Regions from separate parts of the Homo sapiens genome. Here regions 2 and 3 are each linked to region 1. Evidence: promoter capture Hi-C in 16 types of primary human blood cells and fetal thymus (Javierre and others, 2016). All regions are on one chromosome and are shown on one strand. The core of a region is centred on a gene start or on the middle of the fragment in contact, and the rest is flanking DNA. Distances in the headings are between cores, read along the strand shown. Region 1 holds the start of APOBEC4 (apolipoprotein B mRNA editing enzyme catalytic polypeptide like 4). Region 2 overlaps COLGALT2 (collagen beta(1-O)galactosyltransferase 2). Region 3 overlaps RGL1 (ral guanine nucleotide dissociation stimulator like 1).

Evidence for each region. The method cuts DNA at HindIII sites, captures the fragments that hold promoters and counts their contacts. A CHiCAGO score of 5 or more calls a contact.
Region 2: a contact is called between a fragment that was not itself captured here and the fragment with the promoter of APOBEC4 in region 1, in 16 of 17 cell types (naive B cells, naive CD4 T cells, M2 macrophages and 13 more). The highest score is 12.5, in naive B cells.
Region 3: a contact is called between a fragment that was not itself captured here and the fragment with the promoter of APOBEC4 in region 1, in 16 of 17 cell types (megakaryocytes, naive B cells, naive CD8 T cells and 13 more). The highest score is 38.5, in megakaryocytes.

The regions. Positions count from the first base shown.
Region 1 is chr1:183,651,235-183,656,128 of GRCh38, reverse strand. It overlaps APOBEC4 (apolipoprotein B mRNA editing enzyme catalytic polypeptide like 4), which reads left to right and starts at 2,813. Exons shown (of 2, transcript NM_203454.3): 1 at 2,813-3,057. It also overlaps a transcript of RGL1 not described here. The HindIII fragment of the contact is 5,397 bases long and covers 2,021-4,894 here.
Region 2 is chr1:183,933,952-183,938,845 of GRCh38, reverse strand. COLGALT2 (collagen beta(1-O)galactosyltransferase 2) reads left to right here. Exons shown (of 12, transcript NM_015101.4): 12 at 1-3,012. The coding sequence ends at 85. Among named protein-coding and RNA genes, the nearest start is that of COLGALT2, 100 kb to the left of the region's middle. The HindIII fragment of the contact is 1,720 bases long and covers 1,727-3,446 here.
Region 3 is chr1:183,915,537-183,920,430 of GRCh38, reverse strand. It overlaps RGL1 (ral guanine nucleotide dissociation stimulator like 1), which reads right to left. Exons shown (of 18, transcript NM_001297671.3): 16 at 3,730-3,984. Among named protein-coding and RNA genes, the nearest start is that of RGL1, 110 kb to the right of the region's middle. RefSeq lists a silencer at 1,456-1,645 and an enhancer at 4,197-4,386. The HindIII fragment of the contact is 428 bases long and covers 2,420-2,847 here.

The sequences.
Region 1 (4,894 bases), core at 1,564-4,063:
ATGAGAAAAAAAAAAGAAAAGAAAAGAAAAAAAACTTGGTCTGCTTTGGGATCTATCTGTTTCCTTAAAATTTTAGTTTATGTCACATTTAGCATGAGTGACTCCATTTTGGTTTGGTCTGGTCGGCTGGGGCCTAGTGTACAAGCTTAGCCCAAAACAATGGCCTCCCATCACTGTTTAACATATGGTTTGGAAATGTCAATTGGTCCTTTCCCACAGAGAGTTGGAAGCCTTCTTTAGAGCATCTAAACAGTCTCTGGAAGTAAAGATGCTGCCTTTACCCTATACTTTTCCTCAGCTTAAGTTTTAGGAGTCATTTTTAATTCTAAACATTTGCTGCTGTTTCCCCTAGGATAATGAGGAAAATCAACATGGAGGAATTCTAAGAGAAAGTCTGTGGTGTTAGCAAATTAAGGGTGGCCCTACAGAAAGCTCTCTGCTGTTAAGACTGTGCTGCCACCTTGTGGCCATCTTGTTTATAACCCCCCGAGCTCGAAGATCCACCCTCTGCTTTTTCGTCTCCTTTTGGTCTCAACTCCAGTGCTTTTCTTATCTCATCTTTCCCATCTAACTCCTTAGTGAGCTCCATGAAATCTACTTAATCTTCTGATCTTTACTTGAAGCTTGCTTTCTAAATTCAGTTCCTTTTATCACGTAGTTTGTTACTGCTACATGAATTTGAGCATTGTTGTTCAGTGTCAACCAAACTGCTACTAAAGTGATGAATTATATAATTACTTGGGTACAGTAGGTTCAAATAAAACTTTAACATTTTAGCAATAACTTATAAATATTTTACTTCCTGCCACCCAAAGAGAAAGTTGCCTTATAAGCAGTAACTAGCAACACACAAGCCATCTTGGATATACCCCAAACTGGGTTGTCAGAACATAGATTAATAATTTTTGGAGTGCCAAACTGAGTAAATGTCTCTTAAAAATTTAGATCATTGCAGGATAGTTTAGTCTTTGTAAATCTTCTTCATTATAATCTCATAATATCTCTACATAAATAATATACATCATAACTCATCTGAATGAAGATGAAACATGGCAGATTAACAAAGGAAGACAGAAAAGAGAAGAAAGGAGTCTGTTGGGGAAGCTAGACATTTCTTCCAAGCATCTCCTTTCCAATACATGTCAATTTCACTGTGAACAGGAACCATGGTAAAGGCCTTTCATTTCCTCCTGATGAAGTTTAGTCTTAAAAGTCATTCTGTGCAACCTAAATGGAATGTTGCCAACTTAACATTCCTTGGAGTCTTCCTACATCTAACAGACAACTACCTTTAAAGAATAATGACTAATTGGGGTTGCCTATCCCTAAAATCACCCTAAAATGCAATTGATAAATGTGCTAGTGGACAAAGGCTCATTTTTCCTGTTTCTTTAGGCTTAACCTTCCATAGGTATATCATTTGCTGAGCATCTAATCCACCATGGAAGGTGCACAGTGCACATGGGATGCTGGTGCAGATTTGGGGACTATATTTTTTGTCTTTTCCTCCCCTCACTGGAACCTGTCAGACAGCTAATACTTTCTTACAGAACTGAGCAGGCCCTCAGAACTTGATTCTTCAGCTAGCGGGAGAAAAACCCCAACATGTTCTCTTCAACAGTCAGCTATTATCCTTTCACCCAGCTTTTGATAAGTAATATTTTTAAAGTAATGTTTGCAATAGATTGTCATTTATTAGGATTAAATAAAAGATGAGCTATGAGGATTGACTTTCAGTTCCATATTTACAAGTTCATTCAGTTAGAAGATGCAAGCAATGAGAAAAAAGGGATGACCCATGGCAAACTGTGGGGAAGGGACAGGATGCAGCAGTGACCATGTGCCAGAGCAAGCACCAAGGAAGATGAAACTGAAAATAACCAGCTGAGGAGTTCATGAATACACCTGAGGCCCTTAGGAGACAAAAACATCTCGTCTAGTAGGAGCACTCTGGATGAGAAAGGATGTGTGCTGTGGTGCAGACTGGAAGTCTGACAGTGGAAACAGGCGTGGCGAAGCTTCGAGAAGACAGAAGGTGCCCTCTGGGTGCTCAGTATCCCTGAGTTATTTTTAGAGTATGTCTGCTTACAGCCAATAGTTATTACTGGAATGTACACAATAGCAATCCCCACTCACTCCTTCAGGTGGCCTGGGAAAGGGGAATGAGGGAATAATCCAGAGTGATTGACAGTGAATTGTGACTATCAATGTGCCTTGTGTCTAGGAGATGATGTGGGGGTCAAGGGAGACTAAGGAAAAGAATGGAGAAGGACAAGTGGCTCTTCCGTTAGCCACAGAGAAGGGGCTACAACCGATCCTGGAACAAATCTTGTCTTAAACTGGAGGGAACCACATACATACCAATAGCAAGAGTCTTCCAGGCAATTTCTAAGAGGAGGGAAACCGCTAACACATAGCCTAGGTTTAGACAGAATCAAAAACACCCCCTTCAGGGACTATGGGCCTCTTGGAGGAAGTCAACTCTCTGCTCCCTCTCACAGAGGGCAAGCCTCCCAAGGAGAAGCCCTGGCACCCACGCAGGCAACAGAACCGCCAGGCCTGGCACCTACTCTAGACCAGGAGAAAGGTGCTGAGGAGCAGGCCCTCAGAACTTGATTCTTCAGCTAGCAGGAGAAAAACTGCAACATGTTCTCTTCAACAGTCAGCTATTATCCTTTTACCCAGACTGGGATATGCAGTCCTGTATATTTTCATCTTTGGAACAGGTGGCTTGATATGCAAATAAAGTAATAAGTGTCAGAGCTGTATCCTAGCAGTAGCTACTTTGCAAACGTTACCATGGCACCCAATCAACAGTGTTCTTAGAGGTAGCCACACCTCAGCAAGGGCTTTCTAACTTGGAACAGCAAAGTTCAAATGAACGAATAGACACAAACTGTGAAAGAGTCCTGAACCCATTACAAGGTGAATCTTTACAGCACAATTGCCTTCTGAAGCTACTTGAAACAGGGCATGGGACTTAAAGGAGAAAAAAAAGGAAATGGACCATCTCTTCTAACACCTGGAATGTGATCCAAGCCTGGAGACAAATTGATGGTAATTATAACTGCTAACATTTGTTTTTAGCTGCTAACAGATTGTGCACAGATTGTGAAGGGCAAACTCCATTCTCCAATTACTCCAGTGCAAACTGTGCTTTAACAGTACTCACTAAATCCTAGTTGAGTGAAATGAGAGCAGATTGTCCTTATGGTGTGGTTCATTTATGTTAAACTATGGAAAGCTGTCCTCCCACGGTCCCAGTCCAGGGGCCACTCACAGCCAGATGCAGAGAGCCCTCCAGCACGCTGGGCTCTACACATCTCTGTTCTTACTGCCAGCAAATCTGCTCTACAGAGTATAACATGTATTTCCCAAGCACAGACAAAGCAAAAGGAAAAGGGCTAGGCAGGAAGTAGGGACACCAGCTGCTGGGGAAACAAGTCTTAAGCAACCTGGCTTGTGAGCCAATCAAGGTTGCTAAGGTAGGTCCTGGGCCTAAACAGGGTACATTTCCACCTGGTTGGGGAGAATAAAATGACAGATACCAAAAGTTAACAAGATAATCTGTGGTCGATAACAAATTGATACAATAAACCATGAATTCTCTAAGAGTTCAAAGAGGGCAACAGTTCTTTCCTGCTTCCTCTTCAGATGAGGGTGATCAAAGAACAAGCCCAGAAAGACTCTGAAAAAGTGAAAACTTCACCAATAGGAAACTATAGTTGGTTGACACTGAAAAGTTGTCAGCAAGAATGAGACTACAGAGCTCCCTCCACTATGTGTTAAAGCCACAGTCCTCTCCATCTCCTTAAAGACAGTAATGATGTATCATTTCTGGCTAAAACAGCCACAGAAGATGGGGGTGCAAAGGAAGGCGTGCTTAGAAAAGCAATAGGGAGTTTCCATTTTGCTACCTTTATCTAAAAACACACAAAGACTTTTGTTTCCCAAAAGGGTAATTATGGGACCATTATATATAGTTAACTCCACATACACATCACCTTAAGAAATAGTAATAAAGACAGAAAAGTGCCTTTTGGTTCTGTTTCCATAACATTTAGCCAAATCAATCTGTAAATTGTCTATGGGTGAGTTGAAATTGTAATCTGAGCAGTAACCTGGATGTCCGGTGTACCACCCATAAGTCGACCACATCAAGGGCACAATATTAAAAAGCATGAAAGTTTGGGCTTGGTTTTGGCAAGTTCTGATGGAGAGATCCATCCAGCCTGATGAAGGCTAAGCAAGGAGGAGGTCCAGAGAGGAAACAATGCTCGGGAGTAAGCAGGAAATGGCGTCAGGTTCCAAGAGATCGTCCACTGCCAAGGGTTAAATCCAGCTCTCTAGAAGGAAAGCTATGACAAGGTCTAGGAAGCCTCAAGGCAGGAATTCAGTTACATCAGGAAAATATAGTACTAAGGAAAAAACAAAGCTAATGTCCAATCCTATGGATTAAGATGACACAGCAGAGGCTAGGAGAAATCTAGAATCTGGTGGGTATGTGGTGCCAGAGTTACTGCAGGATATTAGCCACTAAGATAATGGTGACATGAATAAAGCTACATTCCACCTACAGCTGGATTGAGGCTTTTAACATATTTTCTGCCCAGGATAGGATTAGCATAGGAACTCTGCAGGTTTCAGGCTAGAGATCAAGCTGTATCAAATACAGCAATGAATGAGCTGATGTGGGCTGAGGAAGACAGAAGGTGAACATAGCACTTCCATATGAGAGGCCATAATTTATTTATTAGCACAAGTATTCATACTTGTGATATGATAAGTGAGATTTTGAAAAGTGAAAAATATATTCTGTTGCAATGGTCAGTTTACCTCATTTAAATTTTCTGCCTTATCAGTTTTGTTATCTGACAAAGTTAAATGTAAAAAA
Region 2 (4,894 bases), core at 1,337-3,836, 280 kb before region 1:
CCGCATCTACAGCAATGCCAAGAACACAGAGGCCCTGCCACCGCCAACCTCCCTGGACACTGTGCCTTCAAGGGATGAGCTATGAAGGCTCCCTGGGAGTGTGGCCCACATCAGTTCAACATCCTCTGGTTTTTCTAAAGGGCTATTCATCTGTTTGCTCCAGTTTTCTGTTTTGTTTTGTTCTTAGTGGTCACAGTCATCTAACCAAAGTGATCTAGTGTGATAGATCGAAATTAACATATTTTTGACCATGGAAGGAAATAAGGAAATTCAACCCAAATTTCCCAAGACGGCTGAAAGACAGGTTTTTTGGAAACTGTTAAGATAAACTGTAATCCAGACACCTAATTCTTCAGTTCACTACTCATGTGATACTGATTCCCACATTAAGGTTGAACAACATGGCTCAGAGTCTTGTTCAAGAGAAAGTGATCACCGAGCTGTCACATCAGCAAATATGTAGTCAAGGCAGCCAGGCCAACTAGACCACACTTATTGGTCTAGTTTGTCCGTTTTATATGACATTGAAAACTTGTGTGTGCAACTTTTGGGGGACAGGAATCACTTAAAATCATATTTATTTGGCTTTTTATTTAAAGGATTCTGTCACAAGTCTTATTGAAAAGTAGATTTTTTAAAAAAAAAAAATCTTAGTCCCTGTTATCCAGTAGGGGTGGGTATTTGGGTCCGACTGAGACTTGGCCTGTGACCATCATGGCAGTTGGAGTTCTCATATAGAGGTGACCAGTTTGCCATGTGGATATAATTTAGTAGATATTTGACAGTTTGTGTAGGTATTTGAGGGAAAAAACTCAATGTTTGGCTTTTTTATTATGGCCACTCGAGTCAGGATGCTCTATTTATAAAGATAAATGTAATATATAAAGGGTGAGGACTGGCTGTGCATCCTGCCCTGTCCCGGGTTTGCGCGCTGCTACAGAGCTTCACGCTCTCCGCTCCACCCCTTAGCCTGGGAACCCACCGCAGGTGTGAGTTCTGTGAGTCACTGCTAAGAGACAGAGCACATTTTCAGGCCAGCAACTATCCTTGCCAGAGTTTTTTCATTATATTTTGAATTATTTATTTTACAAAATGGGCGAAGATATTGTCTTTAGGATAAGGCAGAGAAACAGATGTTGCAGACTTCCACGGCACCCGGGGGAGTGGTGGGTGTGGACACATTGGTTCGGCAATCTGATTCTCCTGAATTTCCCAGCCAGGCTCTTGTGGGGAGGCCTGTGGATGGGGGGATTTGAACTATTTGGAAACAAATGATTCTCTATCTCAGGTGAGAAACCTGGTCAGAAACAAAGGGCTGGTCACCTGATTTAGGCCAGCAACCAGGGAAGCTCTTAGAATCCCAGGCGGACACCCTTTCTCAAAAGATATCCCCTAAGAGTCCTTTCTGCTTTCTTCACAGATTGATTTTATGTAAAATGCAGAGTTGGACTACACGATTTCTTCCCACTCCACAATCTGTCATCCTAGTATAGATCATGGTGGTTTCCCTCAAGTTTATGTTCTCATGCCCTCAATCTGTAAATTTTTGTCTCCAGAAAAACCCTCCCAGGCATCCCATACCAGCACCGTTCCTCATCACTGTCCATGCACCATGCAGCCATATGGGGGGCCGTGCACACCCCAAACCCTGAGCTTCACACTTAAACTCATGGGGAGGGCCCTTCAGAGCAGAGTCCACAGGCGGGTGGTGCTACATACACAAGCTTAGTGTACGAGTGTAAGATACACTTTAAGCCAGACACCTAATTCTTCAGTTCACTGCCCATGTGATACTGATTGCCACATTAAGGTTGAACAGCATGGCTCAGAGTCTAGAGAAAGTGATCACCAAGCTGTCTCATCACCAAATAGGTAGTCAAGGCAGCCTCATCTCCCCAGGTGAGGGGCGGGTCCCCACTTTAGGACAAGAGGCAGCTTGCCTTCCACCAGACGCCAGCCTCGGCCTTCCTTCCCGACTCACTGTGGGTACCCTTCTACACTGACCAGCAAGCTAGGCCGCTGGAGGAAAGGGAACTCACCCAACTCTAAATTGTGCCGCTTAGACTTAGCTGTCAGTGTGACTTCCTTTCCCACCCACCCCCAGAAAAACAGAAAGAGCATCTGGGGAGCGAGTGAAAATTCCTTAGGTGATTCCTAAGATTTCCTTGGGTATCTGGTTTTTGTTTTCATATTTGAGTGTGTGCATGTGTGCATGACTTTAATGACTTTTTTAATGGGGTGGGAGGTGGCTGGGGTGCTGGGGTTGAAGGAAGTTTGGGTTGATTTTTGTGGTGTTTTGTTTAATAGAGAATTTTTTTTTTCCTGTTCCCCTGTCAGCTGGTCTGACAGATTTAAGAACTCTCATTCTTAAAAGACTTTGGACTTAAATTCTAGCATTTTAGACTAGGACTGTTCTACTGTGAAGAAAGTTCTGTCTCCTTTAGCCCGGTTTGTTTCTCCCTGCTCAGGTCTAGAATCCCAAGCAGTGTTCTTTTCTGGTGAACACTGTGAGCCGCAGATGTGACTTTTTTTTTAAAGTCATCTCTTCAGCAATCCAGAGGTTCCTTGACCTCATTATTTGTCCTATCTCTCCCTTATAGTCCTAAGCCAAGACATTTGACCTTTGACATTTGACCTTTGCAGTGTCATGTGAGGGCGTCAGTATAGAGGCCTTTGCATCTGGGCCTGGCACCCGCTCTCTGCCTCTGGAGGCTAAACCCTGTCTGGATTTCTCTTGGGATCTAACGTGGGATCTTCTGGACAGACAACCGTGACATCAGCAGTGCTGGTGCTGCTGTGTGTGGACTGAACACCTGCACTTTGCAGAGGACACGCTGCATGGGCCCCGCTTGCGGTTCATTCAGGCCTGCTGCAGGAGCTCTGAGAACAAGAAAGAGTGGACACCCGTTCCCCTGCATCATCTGTCTTGCGTGCTATTTCAGAGTGGGGAAGTGATAAACTATTTGCCTTCTGGAGCTCTTTGTGAAAAATTAAAAAAAAACTTAGCTCAAAGATATGATTGTCAATTGCTTCCGCAGGCACTGATCAATGGCCAACGCTGCAGAGATTACCAGGTCTGCCCTTGACCAAGGATGTCAGAGTCAGGGGGAACCATCACTGCTGTGTGATCCCCATGGCAAATGAGGGGAGGGTGGTTGCTGCCCTTACTGTGCAGTGAGGGTTGTTTTAAACTGATGGGTACTGTTATGTAAGCTGAAAAGGATTCCAAGGTACAGAAAGATGGAAGAGAGCCCCCACTGGGAGGGAGTGGAGGTGTCCATCTTGCATTTTGTGCTACAGGTCAGCCTATCCGTTCATCAAAAGATACTGAGATACTGTGATACCAGTCCAAGGCCAAAGAGCTTTTTCCTGGGGAAAAATAACAGCAGCAACAAAAAGAAAATCCTTGTTGATCTCAGTGACTGCTTGAATTTTTAGATCAAGCTTACCCCTAATCTCAAAAACCAGGCTGTGAACACTGCCTTGCTGCAGGCTTTGTGCTGGGCACTGAGATGCTCAGAGAAGTAGGTAAGGTCCCTACTGCTGTGTGGGGCCCGCAGTCCAATGGAGGAGCAACATAAAGCAGGTGGCTGCCAAACAGGATGGTTTTATTTCAGAGATGAACAAAATGGGCAGAGGAGGACTGTCAGGGCAGCTCTGCTGAGAAGGTGACATTTGGGTTGGGTTTTGGAGGATGAATTGGAGTTCAGAAGAGGGAGGAGGGCTGGGCACAGTGGGTGGAGATGCTGTCCAGGCATTGCCTGACAGGACTATGAAAGGGCCAAAGTGGGATTCATGGGAACTCAGTAGGGCAGAAGAGTTAGGCATGTGTTGGGGTTGATAACAAACAAGACTGAGACACAATCATGCTGGCAAGGCAAGTTGGCTGCCTCCCTCTCAGGGCTGTCTCCTTCTCAGGGCTGTCTCATCATAAGCACAGAGCCCAGCATTTCTGGGAGAATTCTAAGTTTGGTTACCATCTTGACAGATAATACAGAGGCTTCCAGTAAAATGTTGATGTCCAAAACAAGAAATATTCCCACTCAGCTACAAATTTGGGAATCTTATGGTTTTTCCCTTATGATTGGAGCAAATCCCTCCCGCTAGTAACTATAAAATAAAGATGTGTCTTCCCAGGAGGCTTTCTATAACGTGCTTTTGAGACATTCTTGCCAACTAAACAGAGGAAAGAAATGATCCAGAAGTGATCTCCCTGACAGAAGTTAATTCACTAAGGAGTTAAATAATGACAAAGTAAAGTTAAAATGAGGCTGGCTATATGAGAAGAAAATAGCATGTAAGGGGTGACACGTTCTGAAAACTAAGAGTAGACAGCTTTGGAAATGTCACGCCCACATGATGTTTTGTGGTGATGTTTATTATTTCAGGGGAACCGGCTGTCCTTCAATTAAATGCAGCTGAGGGAGGAAGGCCAGCAGGAGAGGAGGGGCATATGAGGGGCTTCCCTGTGAGCCCGCGGCCCTAAGTCAGTGTAGGGCAGCTGAGACAAGAACCAAAGTGTGGACAATGTCCTTTTGTACCTGCTTGGAGAAGAGAGAAGTAATGATGGTAGATTTTAGTACATTATATTACAAAAGATTACGTGAAAAATGGTGCTCCCTCTTATCCCAGGGACAGAGCAAGAGGAGTTTAGGTGAGCTTTCAGGAAGAATTCATTGACAGAATTGTCAGACACTGAATGGGGTTCCAAGGTAAGTGGTGGAATGGCTCCATTAAACTTTGTTGCTGGGCAGAAGAGTGGCTTCCTTTCTGCTCTGTGAATTACTGAAATGCCCTAGTATTTTGCTTCCACCCATGGATGTGCTAATATGTGAGCTGATCTTTGTTCAGTAGCCTCTGTGACACCAGCTGTGTTGCTTCCAATCCAAAGCCA
Region 3 (4,894 bases), core at 1,384-3,883, 260 kb before region 1:
CTTATGCTGATAGACTGAATTAGCACTCATAGGTATCGAATGTGAGCCACATATTTCATTTTAAGTTTCTAGTAGCCACAATTAAAAAGTTTTTAGGACGGGTGAGGTGGCTCATGCCTGTAATCCCACCAACTTTGGGAGGCCGAGGCAGGTGGATCAGGAGGTCAGGAGCTTGAGACCATCCTGGCCAACATGGTGAAACCCCGTCTCTAATAAAAATACAAAAAAGTTAGCCAGGCGTGGTCGTGGGTGCCTGTAATCCCAGCTACTCAGGAGGCTGAGGCAGGAGAACCGCTTGAACCAGGGAGGCAGAGGTTGCAGTGAGCTGAGATCGTGCCATTGCAATCCAGCCCAGGCAACAGTGCAAGACTCTGCCTCAAAAAAAAAAAAAGTTTTTGAAAGGTGATATTTAACTTGAACACCCCAAATATTACATCAGCATATATAATCAATACAAAAATTGTTAATGCAGTATTTTACTTTTTTGTACTAAGTGTTCAAAATCTGGTATATATTTTACCCTCAGCTCATCTCAATTTGGAGTATTCCCATTTCAAATGCTCCATCGCCACCCGTGGCCAGTGGCTGCTGTACTGAATGCGCGGTACTGAACGATGCTTTGGTGTCGCCCTCATTGACTTTCCTGTGACAGAAATACTGCATTCCCTGTGTAAGGGATCTTGGGAGACTGACTCTGTGATTGACACAATGGAGAGAAAGATCATTTCGAAAGAGTGATGGGTTCAGTGGTAGAAGACATTTTTCCATGGTCACTGAGGAGGTAATTTTACAAGGGCTAATTGCTGTCTCTTCTTCTATGGAAGGGCCTTGGATTCCAGGGACATTAGTTGCTCTTGCAAAGCAAGTTCTCTAGGCCACCAGTTCTCAGTGTGCAATCTATGGCCCGTGGGGTCCCTGAAATCTGTGAGGGGATCCATGAGATCAAAATTATTTTCATGATAATACTAAGATGCTGTTTGTCTTTTCTTTGTGTTGACATTTGCATAGGTATTGCAGAAGCTATGGTGGATGGAATTGCTGGCACAACAGCACAAATCGGTCCAGTGGTTTCTAACTACAAATCTACTAGCTGTCACTGTATTCTTCAGTACCCTGTACTCACAGTAAAAACAAAAACAAAACAAAACAAAGCCAGTCTCACTCACATTTTAACAGACTTTCAGAAATGGAAAACAATGCCACACTTCTCACTCAATAATTTTTGGAAAAAAATAGATATTTTTCATTAAAAAATAAAATTTACATTAACATGCAATGTGTTCATTATTGTTATTTTAAATGAATTAATCAACATTTTGAAAGTTTCTCAGTTTAAATATCTAATGTGGTAAATATCAACAGATACAACCCACATAGTCTGGAGCTCTTTGGAATATTCAATGCTGTTTCAGAGTATAAAGGGGTCCTGAGAACAAAAAGTTTGAGAACTGCTAGTCTCGCCTGAACCTGGACTGATTTATTTCCATCTTCTGGTCAACAGCACACAGCATAATACATTTCAGAAAGGTACGTCCTGTGAGCAAGGTTTCTCCTGAGAGGCCTAACGATTAGAATGAGAGCACGAGAGCAGTGTGTCGTCTCTCCAGAATAAGCCTGTGACATGCGCTGGCAGGATTTTCATGAAAGGTGAGTGCCACCACCTGGTGCAATATAAAGGGCCACAGGAAGGGGTTGGCAGGAGAGGTGATTCTCACAGAGGCAGCCCATTTGCTGGGGAAGGAGGAATCTCAGAGCAGGGGGCAGGGGATCTTCTGCTCACTACCCTCCCAACACTCAGACAGCATGCACAACCTGTGACTCCTCCTGGGCAGTAGAGGTTTGTGCAGTCCAACCACTCACAGTTCCCCCCAGACTGAGCAGAGTGCACGCTGACCAGGCATGTCCCAAAACATAACTGTTTGGTGTACAAATCCATGCTATAATTCAGAGACACTGTAGAGTTATGCAGTGGACATTCTCTCTGATTGGTGCAGGTAAGAGGTGCCAGGTGAACAGACCATGCTGAGCAGGCAGTAACCACATGGAGGACCTTGGCTTCCCTGTGTTTCCTCTACCTCTCGGGTGCTCCTTTATTAGCCCCTCCCTCATTACCACTTGCATTCTGCCTCATCCTACACTCAGTCTCGCGAGACCACGTCCCCCCTGTGGGGTTTGACAACTCCCAGTATTTGATCTCAGCACCAGCCTTGCACCAGCCCATGTTTCTGACCATCTATCAGACAATGCCATCTGATGTCATACTGGTACCTCTGATTTAAATGTCCCTGAATATCCTCCTCTGGTAGTTCATATCTCACAGACCCACCAACTACCCAGACAGCCTCTAGTCCTCCACAACAGTAACCAAAAAGTTGGTAACTAAATGAATGGATTCTACAATTCTACCTCATCAAAAGCTTTCAAAAATCCTCACCATCTCCAGCCACATGACCGTCATTCAAGCCCTTATCCTCTCCTACATGGAACATGATAGCAGCTTCCTAACTTGCTTCCCCGCCTCCAGTCTACCCCGACACTCCAGCAAACACAGTGCCATGACTTTCTTAATGAGCAAATCCCATCACTACTTAAAAGCCTTCAACAAGACCCTATTGCCTGCGGGATTAACACACTCCTCTGTGTGGGCCACAAGGCCCTTTACCACCTGATCTTGGCTCTATTATTTTGCACATTGTGAATAATGCTTTGTGGGCTCCCTTTCTAATTAAAAGTTCCTCAAAGGCAGAAATGTCTCACTCATCTCCCTATCCCCAAAGCCTGATCTAATGACTAGAACGCAATAAATGTTTGATATTTTGTTGACTCAATAAATGCTTTAGCAAAGCTTTTATGTGGAGCCTCCATACCACTTATGCCATATTCAGACCTGAGCTTGTAAGCACTGAGTGTGCCTTCAAAGAGGCGAGTGATAAAGATGAGGAGAGATGTGGAATTAGCTGTGGGATTTTGCTGCAAAGGATAAAGTGATTTCCAATACATGATTATCTCCCATAAACTAAGGAGTTTATATTCTTGTGATAAACCTACCAGACCTCACATACCCAAGGTTATCGCCATGAGAGGCTCTGTGTGTATTCCCAAAAGACTGCCATTATTAAAAATATCTTTGCAATTGTCCTCAGAAACACACAGATTTTACAAGAAGCTCAAAAAGGTCAGTCTCATTTTATAGGCATCGTTCCTCATTAACCCAAACTGTATTTCTAGCTTGATCATCCACTTTATTAACTAGGTTTGATCCAAATGACTAAATGACAAAAATCTGCCATCAGGGGAGTACACTGCTAAGAATGTGTGGAAATTCAATGATAAAACCAGACATATAATTCCATAGGAAGGCTTCCAAAAATGTGTGAGGTTGTGTCATCCTCCCTGGAGCACATTTACACTGTCACCCAAATTGAGAATTTTCAAATGGCTAATACTGACCTAAACGAATAAGTTTTAGCATTTCTTTAAGATGTGAAAATTATATCCTATATACACCATGTGTGTGCATATATATGTATATATATTTTATATACATATATCATTCAGCATCTATGCCCAGGGAGACCTGGAACTGACACACATCCCTTCTGTGTGAATGCATATATGTATATGCTAATATTGAGTGTGCATATTTAGGGCTATTAGTCTGAGCGGCCGACAGACACAGACACACAATCTAAATGGAAACCCGCTCCTGGGTCAGGGCTTGCTCCTCACCATGATGCTCTTGTACATGTTGCCGTTATTGTCTTCCACACTGATGCGGATTATGCAGGTGTCTTCATTCTGTTGGTTGTAAACAGGAGGCAGCACAGTCGAGGTAATGGACGTCACCGAGACAGAGCGCTTGTGGATTTTGGGGTTGTTGTTGCAGGACGGAGGGGAGGAGAGGGGGTTGATTAAGGAAGACATCCCTGAGGAATTTGTGTCCATGGAATGGATAGAAGAACAGGATGAGGAGGACTCAGAGAGCTGGAAGAGTAAACACACCCCAGAAGAAAACAGATTAGAACGCTGGCCAACAGCTTTGCAATTTTCAAAGCAGAGGTAGATATCAAGACTGATAGACTGCAGTTATTTCCTCCACAACAGCCCACAGCACACATGTGTCTCATCCCTGGTGTAAGTACTCTGAGTCCCCATCAGTGGTAGATGCCTATCGGTGACTCAGTGTGACCTAATCACTCTATAAGCACGTGAGGCAAAGCAGTTCTATTTCCCTAGGTTTTAGCTGTTCTTATAGAAGTTAACCAGCAGGTGGCAGCAGACACCAGAAACTGGAGGCAATATGGGTTCCCAAAGAAGTCAGAAGCTTACGGGGCTGGAGGAAAGCCTTGCCAACGCAGTTGATTCAGTCCTACTGCAGTCAGATTTCGTAGTGAGAGAGAAAGTTCTGTATTTTTAGAAGTTTCTAAGAGAAGTACCCCAGATTATACGGCTCTGCATTGAATATTAGTGCTAGAAAGGCCTTGGACATCAACTAGTCCCATACCTGTTCTGCTGAGGAACCTGAGACCCAGGGAGAAAACTGGGGCTCCAGGTCCACACAGCTAGTTGACAGCACCCCTAGAACAGGAACCCAAGCTCCCTGATTCCCACTGTCGAGTTCCCAGAGCAAGCACATGGCCAAGGCTCAGCCTGTGGCTGATGACAATAAGATGAATCAACATAGTATGCTGCTACCTCGGTATGTTTAGTACTGTGAGGCTTATCATGAACTTTCATATTATCTTATCCCATTTTAATTCCACAACTGTCTTGTGAACAAAATGCAGAGCATTATAAAGACGAGGAGAATAAGATTCAGAATATAAAAGTGACTTGCTCAAGGGAAATACAGCCTTTAAGCAGCTTCACCACTTTCCACATTTGCTAGTAGAGC